3 separate regions of the Homo sapiens genome follow, and all the other regions are linked to region 1. Evidence: promoter capture Hi-C in human tissues and cell types (Jung and others, 2019). All regions are on one chromosome and are shown on one strand. Each heading gives the region's core, a stretch centred on a gene start or on the middle of the fragment in contact. The rest is flanking DNA. Distances are from core to core; before and after follow the strand shown.

The links. Contacts are between HindIII fragments. The study calls those that stand out against the background at their distance.
Region 2: a contact is called between a fragment that was not itself captured here and the fragment with the promoter of TEAD4 in region 1, in 6 of the 25 tissues and cell types used here (aorta, dorsolateral prefrontal cortex, hippocampus and 3 more).
Region 3: a fragment that was not itself captured here is called in contact with the fragment with the promoter of TEAD4 in region 1 in 2 of the 25 tissues and cell types used here (H1 embryonic stem cells and IMR-90 fibroblasts).

Annotation. Positions count from the first base shown.
Region 1 is chr12:2,956,457-2,961,491 of GRCh38, forward strand. TEAD4 (TEA domain transcription factor 4) reads left to right here and starts at 2,941. Exons shown (of 13, transcript NM_003213.4): 1 at 2,941-3,025; 2 at 3,492-3,584. LOC124902859 (a long non-coding RNA gene) reads right to left here and starts at 3,592. Exons shown (of 2, transcript XR_007063159.1): 1 at 3,285-3,592; 2 at 1,142-1,769. RefSeq lists an enhancer at 3,111-3,846. The HindIII fragment of the contact is 29,957 bases long and covers 1-5,035 here.
Region 2 is chr12:3,051,818-3,056,852 of GRCh38, forward strand. No RefSeq gene overlaps it. Among named protein-coding and RNA genes, the nearest start is that of TSPAN9, 23 kb to the right of the region's middle. The HindIII fragment of the contact is 4,772 bases long and covers 729-5,035 here.
Region 3 is chr12:3,028,770-3,033,804 of GRCh38, forward strand. All of the region lies in intron 10 of TEAD4 (TEA domain transcription factor 4), which reads left to right. Among named protein-coding and RNA genes, the nearest start is that of TSPAN9, 46 kb to the right of the region's middle. RefSeq lists an enhancer at 3,396-3,957. The HindIII fragment of the contact is 4,891 bases long and covers 537-5,035 here.

The sequences.
Region 1 (5,035 bases), core at 1,691-4,190:
ACACACCTTCCCAGCTTGGATCACTGATGGTCTTGGATAGTTAAGACTTAGAGGGAATAAAGATCTCCAAGTTCGTTGTCAGCAGTCTACCCTAACCGTGACACTAGGGTTGCTTTCCTGTTTCTACTCTGGACTCTGTCCTGCTTTCCTCTCCGTCCCCTGAACCTGGCTGGATTCCCCTCCGACCTCACCCCACTCCCCTTTTGCTTGAATTTCTTTCTTTCTTTTTTTTTTTTTTGAGACGGAGTTTCATTCTTTTTGCCCAGGCTGCAGTGCAATGTCGTGATCTCAGCTCACTGCAACCTCCACCTCCTGGGTTCAAGTGATTCTCCTGCCTCAGCCTCCCGAGTAGCTGGGATTACAGGCATGCACCACCACGCCCAGCTAATATTGTATTTTTAGTAGAGATGGGGTTTCTCCATGTTGGTCAGGCTGGTCTGGAACTCCTGACCTCGTGATCCACCCACCTCAGCCTCCCAAAGTGCTGGGATTACAGGTATGAGCCACTGTGCCCAGCCCTGAATTCTTATCTCACTTACTGACACCAACCATTGTTCAGCTGTTAAAGGTTAGCGATTTTTGTTTTCTCTCTCACTACACAGCCAAATGATCTGAACCGTTTCCTAGCTCCTTCCCCTCCTCCTCAACCTCAGGACCACTGCTTGAGTTTTAGGGCACCCCGAGTCTCCAGTTCAACTGCAAGACTGTTGCAAGACGGTCTTCTTGATGGTGCTGCTGATTAAGTCACACTTGTGTCTTTTTTGATGCCTAACTCTTCAGCATGGCACGCAATGACCTTCAAAGTCTGGTATCCACTTCCTTCAATCTTATTATCCACATCTCTATTCTCCAGCCACACCAGTTTACATAGCTTCGCTAAACACACCAGCAGACTGGCTGCCTCACCTTTGTAGGTGCTATTCCATGTGTCTTAAATGGGGTTTCCAGTCTCAGTTTGGCAAACCCTCATTTATCCTCAAGAGCTAGATCAAATGCACTGTAATTGGATTTCACTGTTCCTTCCCTTGGGTTCCCATTGAACTTTGCATAATTGTCTGTCTTCTCACCTAGACTGGAACTACTTGAGGAAAGGGACCTACTCCTTCCCTTAGTGCGGTGTCAAAGTCAACAAACACTCCAATGATTGCTGAATTAATATAATTATTATTAATTACTTTGAGACAGGGTTTCGCTCTGTCATCCAGGCTGGTGTGTAGTGGTGCATTCACGGCTCACTGCAGCCTCAACTTTCTGGGGTCAAACTATCCTCCCACCTCAGCCTCCTGAGTAGCTGGGACTACAGGTGCAGGCCACCATGATGCCCAGGCTGATCTCGAACTCCTGGGCTCAAGCGATCCACCTGCCTCGGCCTCCCAAATTGCTAAGATGACAGGCGTGAGCCACCGGGCCCCCCATGATTGCTGAATTAAATAGTTGGTGCTTAGTGTGTACTTCACGTGGCGCTGATATGCTGCCTTGCGTTTTGGTCTTTTCATGTGCATGAGGTGTGACCAAGCCTTGATATGATTCATTATTTAACAAGAATACCACAATTCATCTATTCAAATGAGGGCTGCGTCTTCAACGCCTTCACCTTGCAGGACTGGATGCTTAGCTCAGTCATTGCTTGAAACACTTTTGGAATACCTCTCTTGGAAACAACTTTGGCATCGATAGCACTTTCCTTTCAATATCTTCCACGGTAGCAATTGTTTTTCATTTATGCAGCATTTATCATGCACTTCCCTATCCCAGGCACCAGGCTGGATCTGTGTGAAAGATAAGATAAATCAGACATTACTCTGTCTTCAAGGAAGTTTCTGTTTGGCAAGGGAGATAAGATCTAGACAACCACCCAACACAAGGCTAAGTGATAATGCCCCAGAAAAGGTTGGATTTGATTTTTGGAAAAAGCCAAAAGTCCTTTGGTTTCAGTCTCCTGGCCAGGTAGATGATGGCGCTACCTGCCAGCACACTGCTTTAAGCCCGTTTGTCCTAAGCGTCTCCAAACAAGGAGCCCAGCGTGTTTCCAGCACCTCCTGCCCCAATAAGAGACTCCTGGGCATGTGTGTCTGAAGTCCAGACTCTCACCGATGGCAGTATACACCGAGGCCTCCCCAGCTAAACTCTGAGCTCTTTGAGGGCAGGTGCTGACGGCTGATCCTGATCTTCACAGTATCTGGACTCATCACACATCTTAGATGAATATTCATTGAGTCACTGAGCCCAGAAGGCGTCCCATGGCATGCCACATGGACTTCAAACCGAGTGCCCTTTCTCCCATGTGGTTTACTCGTAGTGGCGGTTTTACAGATGCCCAAGGGGCAGGAGAGAAAAACGGAAAGAGCTAAAGCCGGGGAGGGCAAGCGAGGGGGCACTGGCAGCGGATCTGGGAATGGAGCCCGCGAGTTCCTGCTTCCTGGTTCCCCGGAGCAAGTGTCCTTTGGTGGGAGCCGCAGGAAGGGAGCAGCCCTTCCTGCGCGCCGGGAGCCCGCCCCTTCCCCGGCCTCCCAGGGACTCGTGCGGAGGGACGCCGGGTGGCGGGGCGGGAGTCTGGGCCCCGTCCACCCCCCCGCCCCCGGGACAGCCCCACCCCGGCGAAGAGGAAGGCTCTCGGCTCCTGGGAAAGGGAGTCGGGACCCCGCCAGGAGGGGAGGGCGCGGGGCGCGCAACGAGCAGCCAAACAGTCGGAGCGGAGAGATCGAAGGGCTAGTGGGCGTGGGGGCCGCAGCCGAGGCCCGGGTGGAGGGGTCCCCGCCGTCCCTCGGCCCCCTCCCCCGCCGCCCGCCCCGGCCCGGCCCGGCCCCGCCCCGCCCCGGCGGCCCGGCCCCTCGCCCGCCCGCGCGCGGCGCAGTCTCCTCCCCGAGGTGCCGGTGGCCCCGCCGCCACTCCCTCCGGCTCCCTCCCTCCCGCCGCGGCGCGCATCTCATTCCAGCCCTCATTCCGCGCATTCCAGCGTCCTCCTCGCACACTCGAGGCCAGGGGGCGGGAGGGCCGCAGCTCCGGCGCCGCCGCGTCCCGCCAGGTGAGAGGCGCCCGCGCCCGCCGCACCCGCCGGCGCCCTCACGGGCCGCGCGCCCCACGCCGCCGCAGCCGACCGCTCGCGCCGCGTGCTCGGCTGCTCTTTTCTTTCCGCCGCCCGCGTTCCCGCCTTGGACCTCTGCGCTCCGACGCGCTCCGTCCCGACCTCTGGCTTCCCTCCGCGCTCCGGCGCTGCTCGCTGCCCCTCTCCCGCTTCCCTCCTGTCCGCCCCGCGCTCCCCTCCTCGCTCCCGGTTGACTCACTCCTCCAGGAATAGGGATCCCCGTGTTTTCCCGTCAGTCCCATTCTGGGAAAACTCCTCCCTCCGCGCGCTCCGCTCCGCTCCGCTGGGCGCACCGGGGCCGGTCGGCGCGGGGTGGGCTTGGCCCCGCGGCCCCGCCTTCACTGCGCCGCCCGTCGGCCCCGGCCGGAGCCCGGCTCTGCGCGCTGACGCCCTGTCGTCCCCGCAGAACGATCGCCGCGGCCGGAAGAGTTGGCGCTCGGGGCGGACTCCTTGGAACTGGCTTAGCGCACCCATCCCACCTTCCCGCACCCTGGGACCGGTAAGGCTGGGGCGCGGGGACTTGGTAGGACTTTGCCGGAGGGCAGGAGTCTGCGCGGTGCGTGCGGAGCTCCCTCCCGGGACGAGACTGGGAAGAGCGAGGCACGTGGAGGCGGCGCGACTGAGGCTGCTGGAGGCGAAGCGGCTCCAGGGGCGGGTAAGGGGGGTGGACACTCGGGACTTTGGGGGAAAGGGAGGCCGGTGTGGAAAGGACCGGAGAGGCAGAACCGAGAGCATCGGCAACAGAAGAGACCCAGCACCCATGCCTCTTTTCTGCTGGGCCCTTTTCGAGCCTGGAAGGGAGAGACCTGGAGGTAAGCGGACTGCCTGTTTTAAGTGCAAAGGCGATGCGAAAGTCGGGGGACCCCTGCAAAAGGTCCTACACCTCAGGGCTTGGGAAGCTGCTGTGTTTCCTGATGGGGACTAGTGGATCGATCCAGGGAGCAGAACTTTCAAACCCCAAAGTGAACATTTCCCCCGTTGTGCTGAGGCACTTGAGGCCCCGCGGACTGACTGCGTCTGTGCTGAGTCTGTGTGACACCTGACTGCGAGTCCCCCTCGCTTTGAGTCTCTGTGTGGGTGATGTCTGTTCACGTGTGGCTCACCTTGGCTTCCAGTGGGCGTATTTGTTTGTGTTGAACGTGAGTGACAGAGTGTGTGTATATGTCTGCGTGAGAAGGGGCTGTCTGAAAGTGAGTATCTCTGAGTAGGTGTGTGATGCCACGTCTCTTGAGTATGTGTTTCTCTTCGAGGATGTTGGTTCTGGCTAGGACTGTTCTTCCTCCCTACATAGCCGTGGGCAAGAGTCAGTGTCTCTGGTTGCCTGAGTGCAGGGATAATTTGACTGTGGTTTTGGAGTGTGTGGCCTCCAGGCTCCGTTTCCCCTGGACCGGGCAGAGCTGGAAGGAAGCTGGCTCCACCTGCCTCTTGGAGCCAGGAGGCTGACTTTCTCAGGGCGAGGGTCTTGTGCTTGCCTGGAATAGGTCAAAAAGCTGGTAGGAGGCTGAAGGAAGTTGAGATCTTTGCCTTTGGGGGATGGGATGGGCGGGTGAGATTTGGGAAGGTTTGTCGGGGTGGATCCCCGGGAAAAGGAGACAGTTTTGAATCTGGAGACTTGTGTAAATAGTGCTTTTAAGTTGCCCTCAAGGACAAACAGGGAGGTATACCAGCCTGAACTACTTTTCCTGGTTTAACTCTCCTCGGAGCTGACCAGGTAACCCAGTAGAAGAATCCCTCATTCTTTCCAACTTGCCAGACACTCAGCACTTCCTTTGAGAAGAGGAATGAGTAGCTTGTTGCATGAGGGCTTCAACGTGGATATCATGTGTAGGGCTTCTTGGAAGGAAGGAGCCAGAAACTGTCTCGGGGGTTGGGGGTTCTCGTCCTTGCTCCTCCATCCATCCTGAGGATGTGGATGTTCTTGTGGGAAACACCTCACCCTCTCACCTCTTC
Region 2 (5,035 bases), core at 1,865-4,364, 96 kb after region 1:
TCCACAGAGACAGGGTTTCACCACGTTGGAGTATTTTGGACTCAAGCAGTCTGCCCCCTTGGCCTCCCAAGGTGCTGTGATTACAGGTGTGAGCCACCATACCTAGCTCCAAGATCATTTTACCTTGTTGCTTTACAATGGGTAGTTTCTATTCCTAAGGTAATATCATGGTCCAGAAGAGCTTCAGGAAATCCAAGACCATTACATAACATTCCATTCAACTGAAAAGAAAAAGGAGTGAAGCTTTTGAAGGCCCTGACAAGATTTTGTGGTAGGGAGACTGCTTTTTTTTTTTTCTCCTAACATCTGTTAACAAAATTTCTGTTATCATCTTTTTCTGGTAATATCTGGTAGTTATGTATGTTGCTGACACCTCAATGTCTGAAATCGAGTAAGAAAGTAAGATCTATGCGGCCGGGCGCGGTGGCTCATGCCTGTAATCCCAGCACTTTGGGAGGCTGAGGTGGGCGGATCACCTGAGGTCAGGAGTTCGAGACCAGCCTCAACATGGGGAAACCCCATCTCTACTAAAAACACACACACAAAAAAAAATCAGCTGGGCGTGGTGGTGCATGCCTGTAATCCCAGCTACTCGGGAGGCTGAGGCAGGAGAATTGCTTGAACCTGGGAGGCGGAGGTTGCGGTGAGCCGAGATTGGGCCGTTGCACTCCAGCCTGGGCAACAAGAGCGAAACTCAGTTTAAAAAAAAAAAAAAAAGAAAGTAAGATCTATGCTGCTATGGTTTTAATGTGTCCCCTGCAAAATTCAGGTGTTGTCAATGTGATAGTATTAAGAGGTGGGGCCTTTAACAGGTGATTATATCATAAGGACTTCTCCCCTCATGAACAGGATTAGTGCCCTTATGAAAGAGGCTTCCCATGGCTGTTGGCCCTTTTGCCCTTCTGCCTTCTGCCAAGTGAGGACAGTGTTCCTCCCCTCTGGAGGATGCAGCTTTCAAGCCACCATTGTGGAAACCAAAATTGGACCCTCATCAGACACAGAATTTGCTGGAACCTTGATCTTGGACTTCCCAGCCTTCAGAACTGAGAGAAGTAAATTTTTATTTTTTATAAATAAACCAGTCCCAGATATCTGTTATAGCAGCGCAAAAGGACTAAGACAATGCTTTCTTAGACAATGGGTTGCTCAAATGTCGAACTCTGCTGTTTTATGCTATTTCTATAGTTTACTTTTCAAGATTTTACTAATATAAGCTTTACAATTTTATAATGTACTGATACACATTTTTATGGTGTTCTTATTATATTCCATGGAAAATGGCAAAATAAATTTTAAGATTCCAGAAAAAAAAAAAAGAAAGAAAGAAAGAAAAAGGAGTGAAGAAGAGCATGCCCCTCCCTTTTGGGAATTTCTGGAAATTGCATTTCTGCTTACCTTCATTGGCCTCACTTAGCTGCAGGAGCCCCTAGGAAATATAGTTTTTATTCTGAGTGACCATATGCCATATGGAGGAATCCTATTACTCAGGAAGTAGAGGAAACCAGGGATCTCTACGACAAATGCATTTCTCTGCCCTCATCTTAACTCTCTGTCAATAGCATTTGACCACTACTCCTGGAAACTTTTTTTTCTTTTTTAGAGATGGCCTCACTCTGTTGCCCAGGTTGGAGTGCAGTGCCGTGATCATGGCTCACTGCAGCCTTGAGCTCCTGGGCTCAAGTGATCCTCCCACCTCAGCCTTCTGAATAGCTGGGGACGCAGGCATGCGCCACCACGCCTGGCTAATTTTAAAATTTTTTGTAGAGACAGGGGTCTCACTATGTTACCCAGGCCAGTCTCAAACTCCTGGGCTCAAGAAATCCTCCTGCCTTGGCCTCCTAAAGTGCTGGGATTACAGGCCTGAGCCACTGTGCCCAGCTTCTTCTTCTTCTTTTTTTTTTTCCCAGAGACAAGATCTTGCTTGGTTGTCTGAGCTGGAGTGCAGTGGTGTGATCATAGCTCACTGCAGCCTAGAATTCCTTGCCTTAAGCAATCCTACTACCTCAGCTTCCTGAGTAGCTGGGACTACACGTGCATGCCATCGCACCCCGCTAATTTATTTCATTTTATTTTTTAGAGATGGAGGTCTCACTATGTTGCCCAGGCTGGTCTCGAACTCCTGTACTCAGGTGATCCTCCTGCCTTGTTTTCCCAAAGTGCTGGGATATGGGCATGAACCACTGTGCCCAGCCACCCTGACTACAGCACTTTTCAGTTTACAAAGCACTTTCTTTTTTGTTGTTGTTTTTGTTTGTTTTTTGTTTTTGAGATGGAGTCTCGCTCTGTCGCCCAGGCTGGAGTGCAGTGGCACGATCTCGGCTCACTGCAAGCTCCGCCTCCCGGGTTCACGCCATTCTCCTGCGTCAGCCTCCCGAGTAGCTGGGACTACAGGCGCCCGCCACCACGCCCGGCTAATTTTTTGTATTTTTAGTAGAGACGGGGTTTCACCGTGTTAGCCAGGATGGTCTCGATCTCCTGACCTCGTGATCTGCCCGCCCACCTCAGCCTCCCAAAGTGCTGGGATAACAGGTGTGAGCCACTTCGCCTGGCCCCCTACAAAGCGCTTTCAAATACAACGTCTTTCTTGCCGTTTACAGCTACACTGTGATACTGTAGACATCCTCTTCACAGATGAAGAAATAGAGGCTCAGAGAAATCACTAACTCAACGCCACTTGGTTACTAGGTTGCAGATCTTGCACTGTACTTCAACTTGGAAGTCCTGGCGCCTCCACAGTGCTCGTGAAAAGAGGTGGACAGCAGGTGACGCATGTGCAGGGTTTGCCTAAGGCCAGGTAGGAGAGTTGGAAGCTGGCCCTGAAGGCCCCAGAGAGCACCAGCATTAAGGGAGAAAGCAATCCCTTTTTGGTGCAACAATTACCCTCCTTCCCTGCCTCTCTGCCTCCCTGCCTCCCTGCCTCCCTGCCTTCCTACCTTCCTTCCTGCCTTCCTGCCTGCCTTCCTGTCTTCCTGCCTTTCCTCTCTCTCTCTCTCTTTTTTTTTCTTTTTTTTAAGACAAGATCTCATTCTGTTGCCCAGGCTGGAGTGAAGTCGCCCGATCTTGGCTCACTGCAGCCTCTGCCTCCTAGGCTCAAGCAATCCTCCCACCTCAACCTCCAGAGTAGCTGGGACCACAGGCACACGCCACCACGGCCAGCTTATTTTTCGGTATTATTTTTTTTTTGTAGAGACAGAGTTTTGCCATGTTGCCCAGGCTAGTAAAATATTTCTATAGGGGTGATGTGGGGTGCAGGAGATTGTGGAGAATAGAGGGAAGTAAACATTAGACAAGCACCACGAGAGGGAAATGTGCTTGCCAGCTGGCGCGCTAGCAATCCCATCTTAGAAGTAATCAGGGAGTAATCAGATGTTCAGACCAAGAGTCTGCTGAGTGTCTTGTGACTATATCAATGTTTTCTCAGAATCAAAGGGATCTGCTTCTCTTCACAGCCTCGCTCCCTCAGAGGCCAAGCTGAGAAGTTTTGAAGTTTGGCATGATTCTCTTATTCTGCTTTTCCTTGTCAGTAACTACTTTGCTGACTTCTTTCCAATTTCTTTCTCTAAATCCCCACCAATCCTGCACAGACCCTTTGGGGCTGGTGTCTGCCAACATTATGTTGAAGTTGCCGGGGACACACAGATTTCTGATTTTAAGCTGTTTAGGGGTTTGCACCGTCTTAACAGCAAGCAAAGGTGAGTGACTTGTACGTAACTCGCTCAAGTTGACACAGTCGGAGAGTGGAAGCTGGGACTCAAAGCCAGCCTGTGACTTCTTAGACCACACGCTGTCTCCCAGCATTAGTTCTGGAAAAGGAAGAGCCCCCAGGAAACACCATTCCGTCCATCACATCCCTGTGCCCCTTTCATCTTGACGGACCCACCCTAGCACTGGCCCTGGAGACACATGAAAGCACGCCTCAGATGCCTGCTCCTGGGAAGGCCTCGAGCCCCTCCCGGCTTATAATTGGCCCACTTGCTCTTTCTCTTCATCTGGCTGGGGCTTGGATTCCTGGCTGGAGTCCCTGGCTTTGATATTTGCTTTTGCTCTCCTGGTTTGGCAACTCATCACATTCCCCGGGTGGCCTCCATTTTCTGTTAGCCCTCTGCCCTGCTCCCTCCTCTGGGTTTGTGTCCTCCCAGGGCCTCCAGTAGGAATTCTAGGAATGCCTAGAGTCCAGACAGGCCTCATTCATCCCATAAACATGTACTAAGCACCTAGGGTGTGTTGGGCACTGTTCTGTCTGCTGGGGATGCAGCAGTGAATAAAATCAAAGTCCCTGCCCTTAAGGAGCTTATATTCTACTGGGGGGAGTCACATAACAAATGAAGAGTTGTGTCAGGCCTCCTATTCTATTTCTCCCCCTCCCAGCCATACCCAAACTACTCTTGGATCTGATCTGCGTGACAGAGGCAAGGCCACACACACACTAGATCAACAGAGGGAGTGTGAGATGCAGAAGTGAGAGGCGGCAGGTGCCCCAAAGCCTCCTGACACAAGGTCACCGCTGCTGTGTGAAAGAAAATGCTAGAGAAGGCTGGGTGCAATGGCTGACGTCTGTAATCCCAGCATTTTGGAAGGCTGAGGCAGGAGGATTGCTTAAGTCCAGGGGTTTGAGACCAGCCTGGGCAACATAACAAGACCCCTAATCTATAACAAAACAACACTACAGAGAGAGAGGGCGGACCTGGCTGAGGGAGCAGCCCCAGCCTGTGGTCACTGGGACCACGGAAGGAGCCACATGCACAGGTGCTCACTTGTGAACAGCACCTACTTTCTGGGCTTCAGAGCGTGGTCCCCGGAAGAGTGCCAGTGCGTCATCTGGGAGCCCACTGCACGTGCAAACCTCACCCCACCCACTCCAGCCCTTCCCAGTCAAAATCCTCAGGGGGTTCCTGAAGTTTGAGAAACAACAGAGCTAGACTTTTTGACCAGGTACAGATTGATCACCCCAAAGCCATGGTCAATCCATGATAACTCCTCTCCCCCATGGAGATGGAGTAGGGATATGAGTGGGATACAGAGACTTCCTTCCATG
Region 3 (5,035 bases), core at 1,732-4,231, 72 kb after region 1:
ACAGGCACGCACCACCATGCCCAGCTCATTTTTGTATTTTTGGTAAAGGCGGGGTTTTACCATGTTGTCCAGGCTGGTCTTGAACTCCTGAGCTCAAGCGATTCGCCTGCCTCAACCTCCCAAAGTGCTGGGATTACACGTGTGAGCCGCTGTCCCCAACCCCATTGCCCATTTTTATAATAAATTGGGTTATTTTTTATTATTGAATTATGAGTTCTTAGTTCTGGATGAAAGTTCCTTATCAGTTATATGATTTGTAATTATTATTTCCCATTCTGTTGAATGTCTTTTCACATTCTTTTTTCTTTTTTTCTTCAGAGACAGGGTCTTGCTGTGTCTTCCAGGCTGGAGTGCACTGGCATGATTATTGCTCACTGCAACCTTGAACTTGGGCTCAAGTGATCCTCCCGCCTCAACTTCTTGAGTAGCTGGGACTAGAGGCATGCACTACTACGCCTGGCCAATTTTTTTTTTTTTTTTTTTTTTGAGATGAAGTCTCACTCTGTCACCCAGGCCGGAGTGCAGTGGCATGATCTCGGCTCACTGCAAGCTCCGCCTCCCGGGTTCACGCCATTCTTGTGCCTCAGCCTCCCAGGTAGCTGGGACTTCAGGCGCCCGCCACCACGCCCAGCTAATTTTTTTGTATTTTTAGTAGAGACGGGGTTTCACTGTGTTAGCCAGGATGGTCTCGATCTCCTGACCTCGTGATCCACCAGCCTCGGCCTCCCAAAGTGCTGGGATTACAGGCGTGAGCCACCGCGCCCGGCCCAAGTTTTTATTTTTATTTAAATTTTTTATAGAGGGTGTCACTATGTTGCCCAGGCTGGTCTTGAACTCCTGGCCTCAAGTGATCCTCCTGCCTCAGCCTTCCAAAGTGCTGGGATTACAGGTGTGAGCCACTGTGCCTGGCCCCTTTTCACATTCCTAGTAGTGTCCTTTGATGCACAAACGTTTCTAGTGTTGATGATGTCCAGTTTATCAAGTTTTCCTTTTGTTATTTGTTCTGGTTATATTTAGTAGTGACTGGGAGCTCTTCGTGCAAGGTAGGACTTGTCACCTGGTGGGTTTCGCTTTAGGGTGATTGGGCTTGGGGAGCTAGCTGTTTTATTGGGGAAATCAATAAATATGTGTGTTTACTGGACTTTTTTTTCCCCCTGAGGTGATTTAGTTTCTCCAGAGACGATTCATCTAATTTCCCTGGAAGGGACATACTTGGTCACAAGTGTTCTGGTAGTGGGATAAAGGGTCGGGGGTAGGGGCCCTGACCATTTCTGATGCTGGCTTTCACTTAACTCTCCTGTTCTTACTCCCCCTCTTCCCTCTCTTTTGAATAAGCCCTGTGTCCCTGAGACCTGTTGCCCTCCTGTTTAATTTCTGAAGATGGTCACCCTTTGGTCCTCTTTAAAAAGTTTTTTTGTTTGTTGGTGTGTTTTTTAATTTTTAATTTCATAGAGACAGGGTCTTGCTATGTTGCCCAGACTGGTTTTAAACTCCTGGGCTTAAGCCATTCTCCTGCCTCAGCCTCCCAAAGTAATGGGATTACGGGCAGGAGCCACCATACCCGGCTGACCCTTTGATCTTCTACCGATGCATGGGAGGGGTGGGCCTGGGGGCTGGACTGTCCAGTGTACAGACTTTTTGTCAGTTCCTGGGGACAAATCCTGTTCCCTCCAGCTCCGAGCCACGCAGCTCAGCTTCTTATCTGTCACCCCTGAAGATATTGGTAGGTTGTGACTCTTTTTGCTTTCTCTACCCCGTGGAATCCAGTGTGGTCCTAATCAGCTTTGAGTCTCCAAAGCTTGCCCAGCTCTCTTGTCAGCTGGTCTCTTTGTTTTCTTTATCTTTGTGGTGCTGCATATTGTTTAAAGTTACTTGCTGTTGTCCTTCTAGCTGGGTCTCTGGAAGGGGAAAAAATAAACTGGGGTAGTCAGTCTCCCACCTTTAGCCAGGTGTCCAGGATGATGGGGTGACCTGTGTGCCACTTCGAAGGGGTCGGCAGTCGCTGTTTGGAGTGCTGGGCTGAGAAGGCTCTAGCAGGGAGGAGTGCTGGGTGGACGGTCATGGCCACGTGCGTAGCCAGGGAAATATTTGTTAGCCCTTCTCCTTAAGCGATGAGGAGTCATTTAAGGTTTTCGAACAGGGCAGGACGTGGCCAGGGTTGTGCTTAGTTGGTTAACTCTGGCACCCAGACTGGAAGCAGGTGTGAGACTCCTGCAGTGGAGACCAGGCAAGACGCATGTGCCTCCTGAGGACCTCGGCCGAGAGGCTGGCTTCAGGGTGTGGCGTGGGAGGCAGGATGCTGTCCACTTTTTCTCAGGAGGGGCTTAAATCATCTCCCAGTCTCCCGTCCAGCCCCGGTTGTGGGAATTGGAACCTGTACAGCTGGCAGTGGCGCTTCCCAACCCTGCTGTGAGTCTGAGGGGGCCCCCAGCCCCCTGGAGAAGCCTTCACCCTTGCTTGAGCACTCACCGCCCCCGGCCTGTCCAGGCTCAGCCCTGACTCAGCGGAAGGAGCTTAGGCGAGCTGATCTGTGGCTCTTTCCCGGCATGGCTCAGGACCCTGGGGATACAGTTGGGGTCAGAGCGGAGACCCAGTTGGCAGTGGCAGGAAGCACTCATGGGAACACTGCCTTGGAGCGGGAGGTGGCATGTCCGGGACCCTCTTGCACTAGCTCCTGCCTTTAGCTATTGGTGATATTCTGTGTTCTTCTAGCCACCCTCCAGATAAGGACCATCCTAGGTCTCTTGTTTCACAAGTAGGGGAAACTGAGGCATGGAGTAAGCAGGGCCTGGCCCTGAGTCCCCCAGCCAGGGTGACCTCTGTCCTGTGGGCACTCCTGTTGGATACATGCTGTGAGATAGATGGGCCCAGATAGACTGAGAGAGATGACAGCTGCACTCTTCTCACCACGTTACATACAGTCACACGTCTCATCCTCACCACAGCCAAGACTGGATAACCTCATCTGCAGAGGGGAAACTGAGGTACAGACAGGTAGAATCACCTGCCAAAGGTTGCCCAGTTCATAGTACCAGACCCATACCAGACCACGGGTCCATACCTGAGCAGCCTGACCCCAGGGTGTGTGCTTGGAGCCACCATACTAAACAGTCCTCCTTGCGAAGTCACTGGCTGCCCTCCATGCAGCATCCTGGAGCTTCTCCTGCTCCCACTGGAGAAGGCTCTGAATTGTCTAAAACAGATCCCCAGCCCCCTGAGGAACAGCAGGCAGTGGCAGCGTGGGGAGAGCAGACTTAGCTCTGTGCAGTCAATGTAGAGCCAGCCCCTTGGGCTTCTTGGGCGTTCTCGACCTCAGATATCCCTTCCAGAAAATAGGGCAGTGGCCCTGCGTGGAGACTAAGGTTGCCAGGAAGGAAGGAGGACCTAGAAGGTACTTTTCCAAACTTGGTAGTGGCCTGTGTCCTCTCTTTCTTTCTGACTCTTAGGGGAGTTTGGAGGTGGGGGTTGATGGGAGAAGAGAGGGTTGGGACAGCTGGTGCCAAAGACATGGGATTCAGCAGGTTCCCTTGTGGACCGTGTGCTCCAGCCGTGTGCTGTACGGACCCAGCGCGGCCCTCGGCTTCCAGGAGCTCGCACTCTGGATGGGAGGATCCAGCGCGAGTCTCGGGGTCCTGGGACAGGAGCCGCTGGACAGGGGGCTGTGGTGTGCCCCCCAGCAAGGCCCTTCTGATGTGTCATGGCAGGGCACGGTGGGCAGCAGTTGGCCCCAGCTGGGGCAGAGTCTCAGTTCTACCACTTGAGAACTGTGTCCTGGGCAAATATTGGCTTCTCTGTGCCTCTGCTTCTTTGTGTGAATAGTCAGCAGTTTGATCTTGGGGACCTGCCAGGGGCTGTGTCGCTGAAGACCCCGTGTATGTGGCCGGCTGGTACTGAGTGGGGGGCTGTGGCCTGCCCTTGCCCCACCCCTTGCCTGAGCCCTCTGAGTGCCAGCGGCCTGGGCAGGTGAAATCAGAGATGAGGGAGCGCCGGAGGCCAGGGCACCTTGGCGGTCATCTGCTCCCTCCTCCGCATGTGTGGGGCGGGCAGAGGCACCAGAGGAAGACACATATGTGACGGGGAAAGGTACATATTCGTGTTTGCTGACAATGAGACTTTGCGTCAATCGTGGGTCCTCACAGGCTGCCCCGGCTCCCCCCGCATCGGGAAGCTCCTGTCTTCTGCTCCCTGGCCTGGTCCCGCCTTCCCCCTCCATCAGCTGGTGTGAACTTGGCCACACACAGTTAGGAAGGAAAACTGCTCAGGCAAGGAAACGGTGTCGCCTCTCCCGGAGCCTTTCTTTTCCTGCCTGGCTGTTTTCTCAGTCCTGGCTCCCAGGCCCTGAATGTGTGTGCTGGAGAGGCAATCAGAACCCCCTTGGAGTGGGAGGAGGACTTGTCCGTCTCCAGTCCAGCCTCCCTGCCTGTCCCCTGAGTTACTGCTCTTACTGAGGGCGCTGTGGTGGTCATTCATAGACTCTCGGACTGCTGGGACACATTTCCAGCTAGAAGTGGCATCTGCCAGCCTGAAGGGCTGAGGCTGCTAGGGCTGTGCACAGCCTCAGCCCTATCTGCTGAGCGCCACGGGGCCTGGAGCGAGGGACTGATGCGATGAAGCTCCCTTCCTCCCCCAGAGCCCCGCAAGTCCAGCAGAGGCCACCTGTCTCTGGGGCCGGTGAGAGGGGGCCTTTGGTGGCCATTAACGCCGCTCTGCACATTGGAAATGCCAGGCAGAGCCGGGCTGCACCGTGGAGGCAGCAGAGTACCCCAGGCCTTCCTCCCATCTCAGCCTGCTCTTCCCTTTCAGTCCCTGACATTTCTCCCAGGCACATACCAGCACATGACAATGAATCTGAGCCCCTCCAGGCCCCCACACCCGGGCTGCGGCTGTCTCTGCTCATCTGTCAGTCACCCGATCCCCCACACCTGTTCCAGGCACAGCTGCCCACCCGCACGCACAGCTATGAATAGGGCGGAGGGAGGGTTGCAAGGGGGCACTCACAGGGCAGGGGACCGGGGCAGCTCTCATTTTTTCTTAG